2 separate regions of the Homo sapiens genome follow, and region 2 is linked to region 1. The links are contacts of gene promoters, found by promoter capture Hi-C in blood cells and fetal thymus (Javierre and others, 2016). All regions are on one chromosome and are shown on one strand. The core of a region is centred on a gene start or on the middle of the fragment in contact, and the rest is flanking DNA. Distances in the headings are between cores, read along the strand shown. Region 1 holds the start of BST2 (bone marrow stromal cell antigen 2). Region 2 holds the start of SLC5A5 (solute carrier family 5 member 5).

The links. The method cuts DNA at HindIII sites, captures the fragments that hold promoters and counts their contacts. A CHiCAGO score of 5 or more calls a contact.
Region 2: the fragment with the promoter of SLC5A5 here is called in contact with the fragment with the promoter of BST2 in region 1 in 5 of 17 cell types (naive CD8 T cells, fetal thymus, non-activated CD4 T cells and 2 more); the score reaches 9.3 in naive CD8 T cells.

Annotation. Positions count from the first base shown.
Region 1 is chr19:17,403,516-17,409,399 of GRCh38, forward strand. It overlaps BST2 (bone marrow stromal cell antigen 2), which reads right to left and starts at 2,115. Exons shown (of 5, transcript NM_004335.4): 1 at 1,776-2,115; 2 at 856-922; 3 at 614-674; 4 at 165-309. The coding sequence starts at 2,060. The coding sequence ends at 180. BISPR (BST2 interferon stimulated positive regulator) reads left to right here and starts at 2,171. Exons shown (of 4, transcript NR_130766.1): 1 at 2,171-2,256; 2 at 2,562-2,781. It also overlaps a transcript of MVB12A not described here. RefSeq lists enhancers at 1,294-2,032, 2,017-2,076, 2,147-2,526, 2,717-2,776, 2,827-2,876 and 2 more. The HindIII fragment of the contact is 7,369 bases long and covers 1,996-5,884 here.
Region 2 is chr19:17,869,103-17,874,986 of GRCh38, forward strand. It overlaps SLC5A5 (solute carrier family 5 member 5), which reads left to right and starts at 2,843. Exons shown (of 15, transcript NM_000453.3): 1 at 2,843-3,574; 2 at 5,036-5,101; 3 at 5,392-5,443; 4 at 5,562-5,629. The coding sequence starts at 3,218. RefSeq lists enhancers at 1-311, 312-965, 4,613-5,385 and a silencer at 5,178-5,307. The HindIII fragment of the contact is 10,072 bases long and covers 1-5,780 here.

The sequences.
Region 1 (5,884 bases), core at 865-3,364:
AGGGCATCCTTCTCACTGGATTCTCCCTCCTTCCCCAAGGCCCCTCACCTCTGCGCCCAGTCCCTTCCCCTGCAGCCTCTCTCTCTAGACTTCGGAGCCTCTGCTTCCCCGCCCCGCTTCCCCAGCTTTCTTCTCCCTCCCGGGGCCGCCCCCTCCTCACTGACCAGCTTCCTGGGATCTCACTGCAGCAGAGCGCTGAGGCCCAGCAGCACAATCAGCAGCTGGGGCGCCGCAGCGGAGCTGGAGTCCTGGGAGCTGGGGTAGTACTTCTTGTCCGCGATTCTCACGCTTAAGACCTGGTTTTCTCTTCTGCGGTACAGATGGCAAATCAGGCATCTGCTCGTCCTGGCTCCTGCCGCCCTCCCTGTAAGCCCACCGCCCCCGGGAGTTCCCCCCGCACCGCCCCAATCCAAGTCACCGGGGAGGGAATGGACAGCGGCCACCCATGGCTCTGTGACCCTAGGGGCTAAGTTATCCTTTTGTGGGACTCAAACTTTATCCCTTGGGGCAATGGGGATTTTGGGAGCAAAGGAGATCCTGGGTCTTGGGCTAGGGATGTGGGGGTGAGAGGAATGTGGCAGGTGGAGGGTAGCGGGGGAAGGCTATCTCTGACCTCAGTCGCTCCACCTCTGCAGACGCGTCCTGAAGCTTATGGTTTAATGTAGTGATCTCTCCTGGTAGGGTGGGAGGACAGAAACAGGGGGCGGGTCAGCATGTGGCCATGCTGGGGCCCTGCTCCACTCTGGGACAGAACCTCCCCCTTACCCCAACCTCCAGCCCTGGTCTCCCTGCCCCCACCCCCTCTTCCATACCTGACTCACCCCTCCCCGGCCCTCTCCCTTCTCCCTTTCTCACCCTCAAGCTCCTCCACTTTCTTTTGTCCTTGGGCCTTCTCTGCATCCAGGGAAGCCATTAGGGCCATCTAAGAAGAGTTAGAATCTGGGGTTTTGGCCTGGGGAGTTTGGCTGCTGCCCCTGGGACCTGGGCCTCCTCCCTAGGTCCTGGGGACAGAGGGGCTTAAATGCAAACCCCTTTCAGGTTTTCTTCCAACCCTCTCTGCACCATGGTCTCCAACCTTAAAGAACAGCCACAACCACACACTCTCCCAGGGCCACCCATAAGCATGTGGGTCCTCAAAATGGGAGTTTTGAGGCCACCCCACGTGGAAACTTGGAGGCTATCGATAACCAAAGTTTAGTGGACATTTCCAGATTGCCTGAGCAATGGCCCAAGAAAAGTTAGAGGGCCCTACCAAATCCAGAATGCAGTGGGATTTCCCCGCCCAAGTGACATGCCCAGCGAGAGTTTCAAGATCCCCCATATCAGGACCCAGGTGAATATTTCAGTTTCTTAGGGATGAAGTGAAAATTTCAAAAGCCCCCTTTTTCAGGGTCTGGTGAGGTCCCCCTTCAACCCTGAATAGGGATTTCTACTCCCCCAGGACTGGTGCCCACGAGGAGTTTCAAGGCCCCCGACACCAGTGCCCTGGAAAGAATTTATAAATTCACCTAAGTCCCAGGGGGATACTGAGGTCCCCGATTTGGGGGATCTGGAGAGTTTTAACACCCTGCCCCTACACCAGTGCCCTGGACTGGGTTAGGGGCCCACAAACCCTGGTAGGGGAACCTAGGTCCCTTGATGTGGGGGCCCAGGAGCAGTTTCAGGACCTCCCCTGCATCTCCCTGGAGACCCACCCTGGGTCAGATTTCTGGGGAGAGATTCTTGTCCCTCCCACCGCCTAGTACTAGGCCATCCAAAGGAGTTGAGGAGCTTACCACAGTGTGGTTGCAGGTGGCGGCCTGGGCCTCCACATCCTGAAAGCCCTTCTGGGCCTCGGTCAGCTCTTGTTGCAGGAGATGGGTGACATTGCGACACTCCATCACTGCCCGAAGGCCGTCCCGGCAGGCCTCGCTGTTGGCCTTGATGGTGAAGATAATCAAGGGCACCCCCAGAATCACGATGATCAGGAGCACCAGAATTCCTATCCCCAGCAGAAGCTTACAGCGCTTATCCCCGTCTTCCATGGGCACTCTGCAATAGTCATACGAAGTAGATGCCATCCAGATCTCCCCTTTAGAGTCTGGCCTGGAGTTAGGGGAGGGTGCTGGAATCTTCTACGGGCCACCCCTTTATTAGCATAGGAAACGTCCTGACCAATAGCAAGTTCCAGGAAGTGCTCTGACCAGCAGCTCTTGCATGAGGCACCTACAGGCAGAGGATTAATTAGGTTTTCAGTTTCAGTTTCCCAGAAAGGAGGTGGGCTTTTTTTTCACCCTGCTTTAAAAGCCCTTGGGCCCTTCCCAGCTGGGTGCCAGCCAACTGTGGCTGCCTGGGACACTCCATCTTAAGTCCCTGTGCCTCTGCTGTGTGTTACTGAGTGCCTAGGCCGTGCCAGCCTGTATTCATCTGTACTATGACCTGAAGAGGCAGAGGCCATCACTGTTGGTCCGGTCTCCACCTGGGGAAACTGAGGTTGCACAGTTGCGTGGTGGAGTGAGGGCAGGGCCTGGGTCTGGGGGCGGGGCCTGGGTCTGACCCCAGGGACTGGTTTTTGTGTTCAGGTGTCTCTGTGGTGACGAGCAGGGCTTCATCCAGTGCCTCTGTCCCCACCGAGGGGACTATGGGAGACATGGAGGGTGTGTGAGCAACAGGTGAGACTGGAGCCAGCTGAAAACTGGGAGACCGACCCAGCCAACAAACAATGTCGGTCTCTGTCTTGGCACCTGCAGGAAACAAGCTCCTACTTCCAGAAAAAGTGCTCCTGGGACTCCAGGATACCAGGTAAACTCTCTGAGCCTGTTTCTTCATCTGCAAAGGGGAATAACAGGGCCAGCCTCAGACACTGTCCATGTGGCCAAGAGAGCCAGGGCTTCCTACAGGAAATCAGGCCCATTATCGGCACCCAACTGCTGGGCATGACCGCTGAAAGGGGACTGCATGTTTTTCTTGTGGCTTCTTCAGCCACATCCTGACCACAGCCCAGATTCTGTTAGGTCTGCCATTTCCATGTTTTTTTTTCTTTTCAGCAGGGCCAGACAGTAGGCGAGGTCAAGTCCAGAGCCCAGGCCTCCCAGAAGGCCTGGGGAACTCCCCCCAGGCCCTGACTCCAACATCCCTCAGAAGGACCCCATTAAAGCCACTTAGAGCCAGGCATGGTGGTACATGCCTGTGGTCCCAGGCTGAGGCTGGGAGGCTGAGGCAGGAGGATCACTCGAGCCCAGGAGTTTGAGGCTGCAGCGAGCTATGATTGTGCCACGGCACTCAAGCCTGGGTGATAGAGTGGGATCCCATCTCTTAAACCAATAAACAAAAAAATCACTTAGAACCAAGAACCAATTAACAAGCTGTGGGAGATGATCTTGCTGAAAATTCTGAGGGTGAACTTGTCCCAGGAGGAGGGACCTACCAGCCTGGCCAGGACTCCAGGTGCAAAGACACGACCTTTGCCTGACTTATTTGACTAAGCTGACTTATTTGAGCAGCACTGTTCTGGCCTGCTAACTTTAGGGTTAGTTTGGGACCAGGTCGGAAATCACAATTGCATGAATTGCACATTGGAGGCCAGGGTGGTGCACCTCTGGGCAAATGAATTTCCTCTCTTAGCATTGATTTCCCCAGCTGTAAAATGTGGATAATAATAGATTGATGTCCTCTCTAAATTTTGCAGCTGTAAACAGTCCCAGCCCTGCAAACCGAAAGTTTGTTGCTCTTCCCTTTAAAATTACTGTAGGGACCAGCCCCACAGGGTCAGTGGGTCTCTCCCTGTGTGCGGCGACGAGAGAGTGTAGAAATAAAGACACAAGACGAAGAGATAAAAGAAAAGACAGCTGGGCCCGGGGGACCACTACCAGCAATGCGCGGAGACTGGTAGTGGCCCCGAATGTCTGGCTGTGCTGTTATTTATTGGATACAAAGCAAAAGGGGCAGGGTAAAGAGTGTGAGTCATCTCCAATGATAGGTAAGGTCACGTGGGTCACGTGTCCACTGGACAGGGGGCCCTTCCCTGCCTGGCAGCCGAGGCAGAGAGAGAGAGAGGGGACAGACAGAAAGACAGCTTATGCCATTATTTCTGCATATCAGAGACTTTTAGTACTTTCACTAAATGACTACTGCTATCTAGAAGGCAGAGCCAGGTGTACAGGATGGAACATGAAGGCGGACTAGGAGCGTGACCACTGAAGCACAGCATCACAGGGAGACGGTTAGGCTGCCAGATAACCGCGGGCGAGCCTGACTGATGTCAGGCCCTCCACAAGAGGTGGAGGAGCAGAGTCTTCTCCAAACTCCCCCAGGGAAAAGGAGCCTCCCTTTCCCGGTCTGCTAAGTAGTGGGTGTTGTTCCTTGACACTTTTCGCTACCGCTAGACCACTGTCCGCTCGGGCAACGGGCGTCTTCCCAGACGCTGGCGTCACCGCTAGACCAAGGAGCCCTTCTGCTGGCCCTGTCCGGGCATAACAGAAGGCTTGCACTCTTGTCTTCTGGTCACACCTCACTATGTCCCCTCAGCTCCTATCTCTGTATGGCCTGGTTTTTCCTAGGTTATGATTGTAGACCGAGGATTATTATACTATTGGGATAAAGAGTAATTACTACAAACTAATGATTAATGATATTCATATATCTCTAAGATCTATATTTGGTATAACTATTCTTGTTTTATATTTTATTATACTGGAACAGCTCGTGTCCTCAGTCTCTTGCCTTGGCACCTGGGTGGCTTGCCGCCCACAATTACAAATGGTGGGATGGGTGCAGTGGCTCATGCCTGCAATCCTAGTACTTTGGGAGGCTGAGATGGGAAGATTGCTTGAGGCCAGTAGTTCGAGACCAGCCTGGTCAACATAGAGAGATCCTATCCCTATTTAAAAATAAATATATATATATATTTTAAGTACATATATTTATTTTATTTTGTTTTAATTAATTAATTAATTAATTAATTTTTTTTGAGATGGAGTCTCGCTCTTGTTGCCCAGGCTGGAGTGCAGTGGCACGATCTTGGCTCACTGCAACCTCTGCCTCCGGAGTTCAAGCGATTCCCCTGCCTCAGCCTCCTGAGTAGCTGGGATTACAGGCGCCCACCGCCATGCCTGGCTTATTTTTGTACTTTTAGTAGAGACAGGGTTTTGCCATGTTGACCAGGCTGGTCTTGAACTCCTGACCTCAGGTGATCTGTCTGACTCAGCCTCCCAAAGTGCTGGGATTACAGGCGTGAGCCACTGCACCTGGCCTATATTTTATTTTATATTTTTAAATATATAATGTATTTTTATATATTGGTTGGTGCAAAAGTAATTGCGGTTTCTGCCATTACTTTTTTTTTTTTTTTTTTGAGAGGGAATCTCTCTCTGTCGCCCAGGCTGGAGTGCAGTGGTACGATCTCGATCACTACAACCTCTGCCTCCTGGGTTGAAGCGATTCTCCTGCCTCAGCCTCCTGAGTAGCTGGGACTACAGATGCCTGCCACCATGCCTGGCTACTTTTTGCATTTTTAGTAGAGATGGGGTTTCGCCATGTTGGCCAGGCTGGTCTCAAACTTCTGACCTCAGGTGATCCACCCAACTTGGACTCACCAAGTACTGGGATTACAAGCGTGAGCCACCGTGCCCGGCCTATATTTTATTTTATATTTTTAAATATATTCTCCCTCTGTCACCCAGGCTGGAGTGCAGTGGTGTAATCTCGGCTCACTGCAACCTCTGCCTCCTGGGTTGAAGTGATTCTTCTGCCTCAGCCTCCTGAGTAGCTGGGACTACAGATGCCTGCCACCATGCCCAGCTACTTTTTGTATTTTTAGGAGAGACGGGGTTTCGACATGTTGGCCAGGCTGGTCTCGAACTCCCGACCTCAAGGGATCCACCCGACTTGGCCTCCCAAAGTGCTG
Region 2 (5,884 bases), core at 1,593-4,092, 470 kb after region 1:
GTCTGTCTCTGCTCAACCTGTATCCAGGCTGGAATTCACTGGTGTGATCACTGCTCACTGCAGCCTTGACCTCCCGGGCTCTGGCGATCCTCCCACCTCAGCCTCCCAAAGTGCTGGGATTATAAGTGTGAGCCACAGTGCCCAGCTGAAATCAGTATTTATCTGCTGGTGAGGTCAGGGCCATCACCACCCTGGGGTGGGTCCACCTGGATCATGCTGTGTCCCCAGCACCTGCCGGAGGGCCCTGCACACAGTATGCACTCAATGAACCGGCCTCAGCCCAGGCCTCTGGCCGCAGCCTGGACCCCACGGTGGGAAGAAGAGAAGCTATGCCTTCCCAGAACTTCCCTGGAGAGAAGGGGTCCATTTACATGTATTTGCACAATTTGCATATGTTTACATTGGTCGGCAGGGCTTTGCAAGTAGGGGATCCCGCTCGGATCTCCCATTGATTGATTGATTGATTGATTGAGACAGTCTCGCTCTGTCGCCAGGCTGGAGTGCAGTGGCACGATCTCGGCTCACTGCAACCTCCGCCTCCCGGGTTCAAGCGATTCTCCTGCCTCAGTCTCCCGAGTAGCTGGGACTACAGGCGCGTGCCATCACGCCCGGCTAATTTTTGTATTTTTAGTAGAGACGGGGTTTCACCACGTTGGCCTGGATGGTCTCGATTTCCTGACCTCGTGATCCGCCCGCGTCGGCCCCCCAAAGTGCTAGGATTACAGGCGTGAGCCACCGCGCCCAGCCTTGATTTTTATTTATTTATTTGTTTATTTATTTATTTTTTGAGACGGAATCTCTCTCTGTCGCCCAGGCTGGAGTGAAGTGGCGCGATCTCGGCTCACTGCAACCTCCACCTCCCGGGCTCAAGCGATTCTCCCGCCTCAGCCTCCCAAGTAGCTGGGATTACAGGCGGCCGCCACCACGCCCGGCTAATTCTTGTATTTTTAGTAGAGACGGGGTTTCACCATGTTGGCCAGACTGGTCTTGAACGGATCTCAAGAGACCCGTCCGCCTCGGCCCCCCAAAGTGCTGGGATTACAGGAGTGAGACACCGCACCCGGCCGGATCTCCCCTTTTCCAACGGGGTTTCCAGGAGGATGCCTGACCAGGGTGGAAGGAGAAAGAACTAGGTGCCTAACCCACTCTCCTGGCGAGGGCAGGAGGTACGCTCCAGCCGGCAACAGGTGCCCGCGTAGCCGCCGCAGTGTCACAGCCCCGGGGGAGGGACAGGTCCACCCTGCACAGCAGAGAGGGAGCAAGAGGACTGTCCGGGGGTTACGTGGGGACGCGTTGAGAAACGCTGGACCCAGCTGGAGCGGCCAGGGCAGAGGGTAGGCCAGAGGAGGCCACCAGGGAGCAGCAGAGGCTGGCGAGAAGCGCTCAAAAGCCCTTTTTTTTTTTTTTTTTTTTTTTTTGGAGACGGGGTCTTGCTGTGCTGCCCAGGCTGGAGTGCTGTGCAGTTCTCGACCACAGCTCATTGCAGCCTCGAACTTCCACGCTCAAGCGATCCTCCCACTTCAGCCTCCTGAGTAGCTGGGATTACAGGCATGTGCCACCACGCCTCGCTAATATTTGTATTTTTCATACAGACAAGATCTCACTATGTTGCTCAGGGTAGTCTCGAATTCTGGGACTCAAATGATCCTCCCACTTCAGCCTCCCAAAGTGCTGGGATTACAGGCATAAGCCATCATGCCCGGCCTCTGACGCTGTTTCTTTCAACCCCCAGGATTTCAGATTCCACCAGCTTATGGAGAAGGGAACCAAGTTTGAGATGCGTGATTGCCCAGAAAGTTGGAGGCTGAGCTGAGACTTGAACCCAGAGACCAGAACCTCCAGAGGTCAAAGTCCTCCTGGGTCCCCCAGAGAAGGGCCCTGAGATGACAGCTCGTTGGTCCTCATGGAAGCGTGACCCCCCCAGTAGACTTTCTCCCACACCCAACCTTGGTTTCCTCATCTATATGATAGGGACAAGCCAGACTCTACCTCCCTGGTGGTCATGGTCTCCGCTTATTCGGGTTCATAACCTTAAAGGCCCCTCGCACCACCTCAGTGAGCCATTTATGCCTGGCACAGGGCCAACTCTCAGTGCATATCTGCAAAGGAACCAATGAATGAATGAATGAAGTGACAAATGAATAAAGGAATAAATGAATGAGGCACTTATCATGTACCAGGCTTTCGTTACCACGTCCCATTTATTCCTCTGAGGCAGGGTCTATTTTATCCTTGTTACAGATGGGGAAACTAAGGCCCAGGGAGGAGCAAAGTCTTCCCCAAGTATGTACCCACTCAGAACTTGAGCTCTGAATGTCTCCCACCCAGCTTAGCCCAAGAGCGGGGTTCAGTGATGCCCACCCCCTAAGGCTCTAGAGAAAGGGGGTAGGCCCACATGCCAGTTTGGGGGTGGTAAAGCCAGGTAAGTTTTCTTTATGGGTCCCCTGAAACCCTGAAAGTGAACCCCAGTCCTGCATGAAAGTGAGCTCCCCATAGCTCAAGGTATTCAAGCACAATACGGCTTTGAGTGCTGAAGCAGGCTGTGCAGGCTTGGATAGTGACATGCCCTCTCTGAGCCTCAATTTCCCCACCTGTCAACAGCAGACAGTGACAGCTGTGATCAGGGGATCACAGTGCATGGGGATGGGTGGGTGCATGGGGATGGAGGGGCATTTGGGAGCCCTCCCCGATACCACCCCCTGCAGCCACCCAGATAGCCTGTCCTGGCCTGTCTGTCCCAGTCCAGGGCTGAAAGGGTGCGGGTCCTGCCCGCCCCTAGGTCTGGAGGCGGAGTCGCGGTGACCCGGGAGCCCAATAAATCTGCAACCCACAATCACGAGCTGCTCCCGTAAGCCCCAAGGCGACCTCCAGCTGTCAGCGCTGAGCACAGCGCCCAGGGAGAGGGACAGACAGCCGGCTGCATGGGACAGCGGAACCCAGAGTGAGAGGGGAGGTGGCAGGACAGACAGACAGCAGGGGCGGACGCAGAGACAGACAGCGGGGACAGGGAGGCCGACACGGACATCGACAGCCCATAGATTCCTAACCCAGGGAGCCCCGGCCCCTCTCGCCGCTTCCCACCCCAGACGGAGCGGGGACAGGCTGCCGAGCATCCTCCCACCCGCCCTCCCCGTCCTGCCTCCTCGGCCCCTGCCAGCTTCCCCCGCTTGAGCACGCAGGGCGTCCGAGGACGCGCTGGGCCTCCGCACCCGCCCTCATGGAGGCCGTGGAGACCGGGGAACGGCCCACCTTCGGAGCCTGGGACTACGGGGTCTTTGCCCTCATGCTCCTGGTGTCCACTGGCATCGGGCTGTGGGTCGGGCTGGCTCGGGGCGGGCAGCGCAGCGCTGAGGACTTCTTCACCGGGGGCCGGCGCCTGGCGGCCCTGCCCGTGGGCCTGTCGCTGTCTGCCAGCTTCATGTCGGCCGTGCAGGTGCTGGGCGTGCCGTCGGAGGCCTATCGCTATGGCCTCAAGTTCCTCTGGATGTGCCTGGGCCAGCTTCTGAACTCGGTCCTCACCGCCCTGCTCTTCATGCCCGTCTTCTACCGCCTGGGCCTCACCAGCACCTACGAGGTACCGGACAGAGGCCCGGGGGTAGGACCTGCCCCACTGGCAGTGCTGGGACCCCGTGTGGGGGAGGCGCTGGGGCTTTGGGCCGCTGTACAGGAGGACGCGGATGGCACCTCGGTGCTTTAACGGAAGGGGCCCCTAGGCAGACACGTGGGGAGGGTTCTAGGAAGAGGCCCCAGGCGCCCGGCGAGGGGCAGGAAGGAGGAAGAGAGAGCCTGGCGTCCTGCTCCTTCGGTGGAAGCGCGCGCGGGGCGGGGCCCGGCTCGACCAGGTGTGTCCTCACGGGTGGACACACACCTGCCCCCCACCTGCCCGGGCGTGCAGACCCACGTGTGCGCGCTAGAGGGGACTGCTGACGGCTCCGGGGTTCGAAACCTGGCTTCACTGCTTTCTTGTATCTTGGGCAAGGGGCGTGCCTCTCTGTTTGGGTTTCCCAGCTGTCCAATGGGCGAATTACAGGACCTCCCTCCAGGGGAGAGGGTAAAGCGATTAAAATCGTGACCGGGGCCCGGTGCGGTGGCTCACGCCTGTAATCCCAGCACTTTGGGAGGCCAAAGCATGCAGATCACCTGAGGTCAGGAGTTCAAGACCAGCCTGGCCAACATGGCGAAACCCCGTCTCTACTAAAAATACAAAAATTAGCCGGATGTGGTGGTGGGCACCTGTAATCCCAGCTACTTGGGAGGCTAAGACAGGAGAATTGCTTGAACCCGGGAGGTTGCAGTGAGCCGATATCGCGTCACTGCACTCCAGCCTGGGCGACAGAGCGAGACTCTTGTCTCAAAGGAAAAAAAAATATTGTGGCAGGGCGCAGTGGCTCACGCCTGTAATCCCAGCACTTTGGGAGGCCGAGGTGGGTGGATCACGAGGTCAGGAGTTCAAGACCAGCCTGGCTAACATGGTGAAACCCCGTCTTTACTAAAAATACAAAAATTAGCCGGGCATGGTCGCGCGCGCCTGTAATCCCAGCTACTCAGGAGGCTGAGGCAGAAGAATTGCTTGAACCTGGGAGGCGGAGGTTGCAGTGAGCCGAGATCGTGCCAGTGCACCCTAGCCTGGGCGACAGAGCGAGACTCCGTCCCCCCTCCCCCCCAAAAAAATCGTGACAGGTATATCCTAGGCGGCCAACACCATTGGCCCGGGGCACTGTCTACACTGTGCGCTTGCGGGCCACGTCGGTGTCTGCTGAGCGGTGGCTGCTCCAGGAGCCCGCGCCCGTCAGGCGCAAGTGGGAGGGCGCGTGCACACGCATGGACCAGTCCTCCAGGTCCACGGGGTACGCACAGGCACGGGATGGCACCTGTGCACGGGTGTGTGCGTGCGGCGGGGCCCCCACGTGCAAGAATCTGGCGGGCGCGGTTGGCTTCCGGAGGGAGGGGCCCACCTAGAGAGCAGACCAGGGACCCGAGAGGCCTCGGCTCCTGGGTAAGGACTGTCCAGGTGACCTCGAGTCCCTCCTTGCAGTACCTGGAGATGCGCTTCAGCCGCGCAGTGCGGCTCTGCGGGACTTTGCAGTACATTGTAGCCACGGTGAGTGGCCTCGGCCCCGCCCTCCGCTCAGGGCCCCGAGAGCGTCAGCCTTCACTAGCCCGGCCCCCACCATTCAAGACCCCGCCCAGACCCCGCCCCCCATGCTCCCGTTCTGACCCCGCCCCCATCAGTCCCCTCCCACACCACAGCCGGCCTGACCCCGCCTGCACTCTGGAAGACCCGGCCTATCTGCCCCGCCCATATTCTGGGACCACCCTTCTGCCTCCTCTCCCCATCCCCAACTCGCCCAGACGCCCTCCCTGCTCACCCGCCCCACACTCTGTCTACAGATGCTGTACACCGGCATCGTAATCTACGCACCGGCCCTCATCCTGAACCAAGGTGTGACTCTGGGAGATTAGGGAAGCATGTCTGGGAAGAGAAAGGGAGGGAGAGGAGAACCCAAGACTAAGTTTGCGCCCCGCCCAGGGGCCTAACAGGGGGACCTCTTTTTGCATAGTGACCGGGCTGGACATCTGGGCGTCGCTCCTGTCCACCGGAATTATCTGCACCTTCTACACGGCTGTGGTGAGTGGCCCTGGGAACTCACTCCATACGGGGGATCGGGCCCACTGTGTCTCTTGTGGGGAGACTCTGGGCTTGCCCCTTTCTCCTGAGGAAGCCTCTGTCCCAGCTGGGACCCAGTGTCCTCATCTTTATAGTGAAAAATGATCTGAAAAGCTTATTGCTGAGAATCTAGAGGTATGGTAGCTTCAGGCATGGCTGGATCCAGGCTTCCACCTCTTCTGGCTTCCAGTCCAGCAGGAAGTGAGCTCCTGCTTC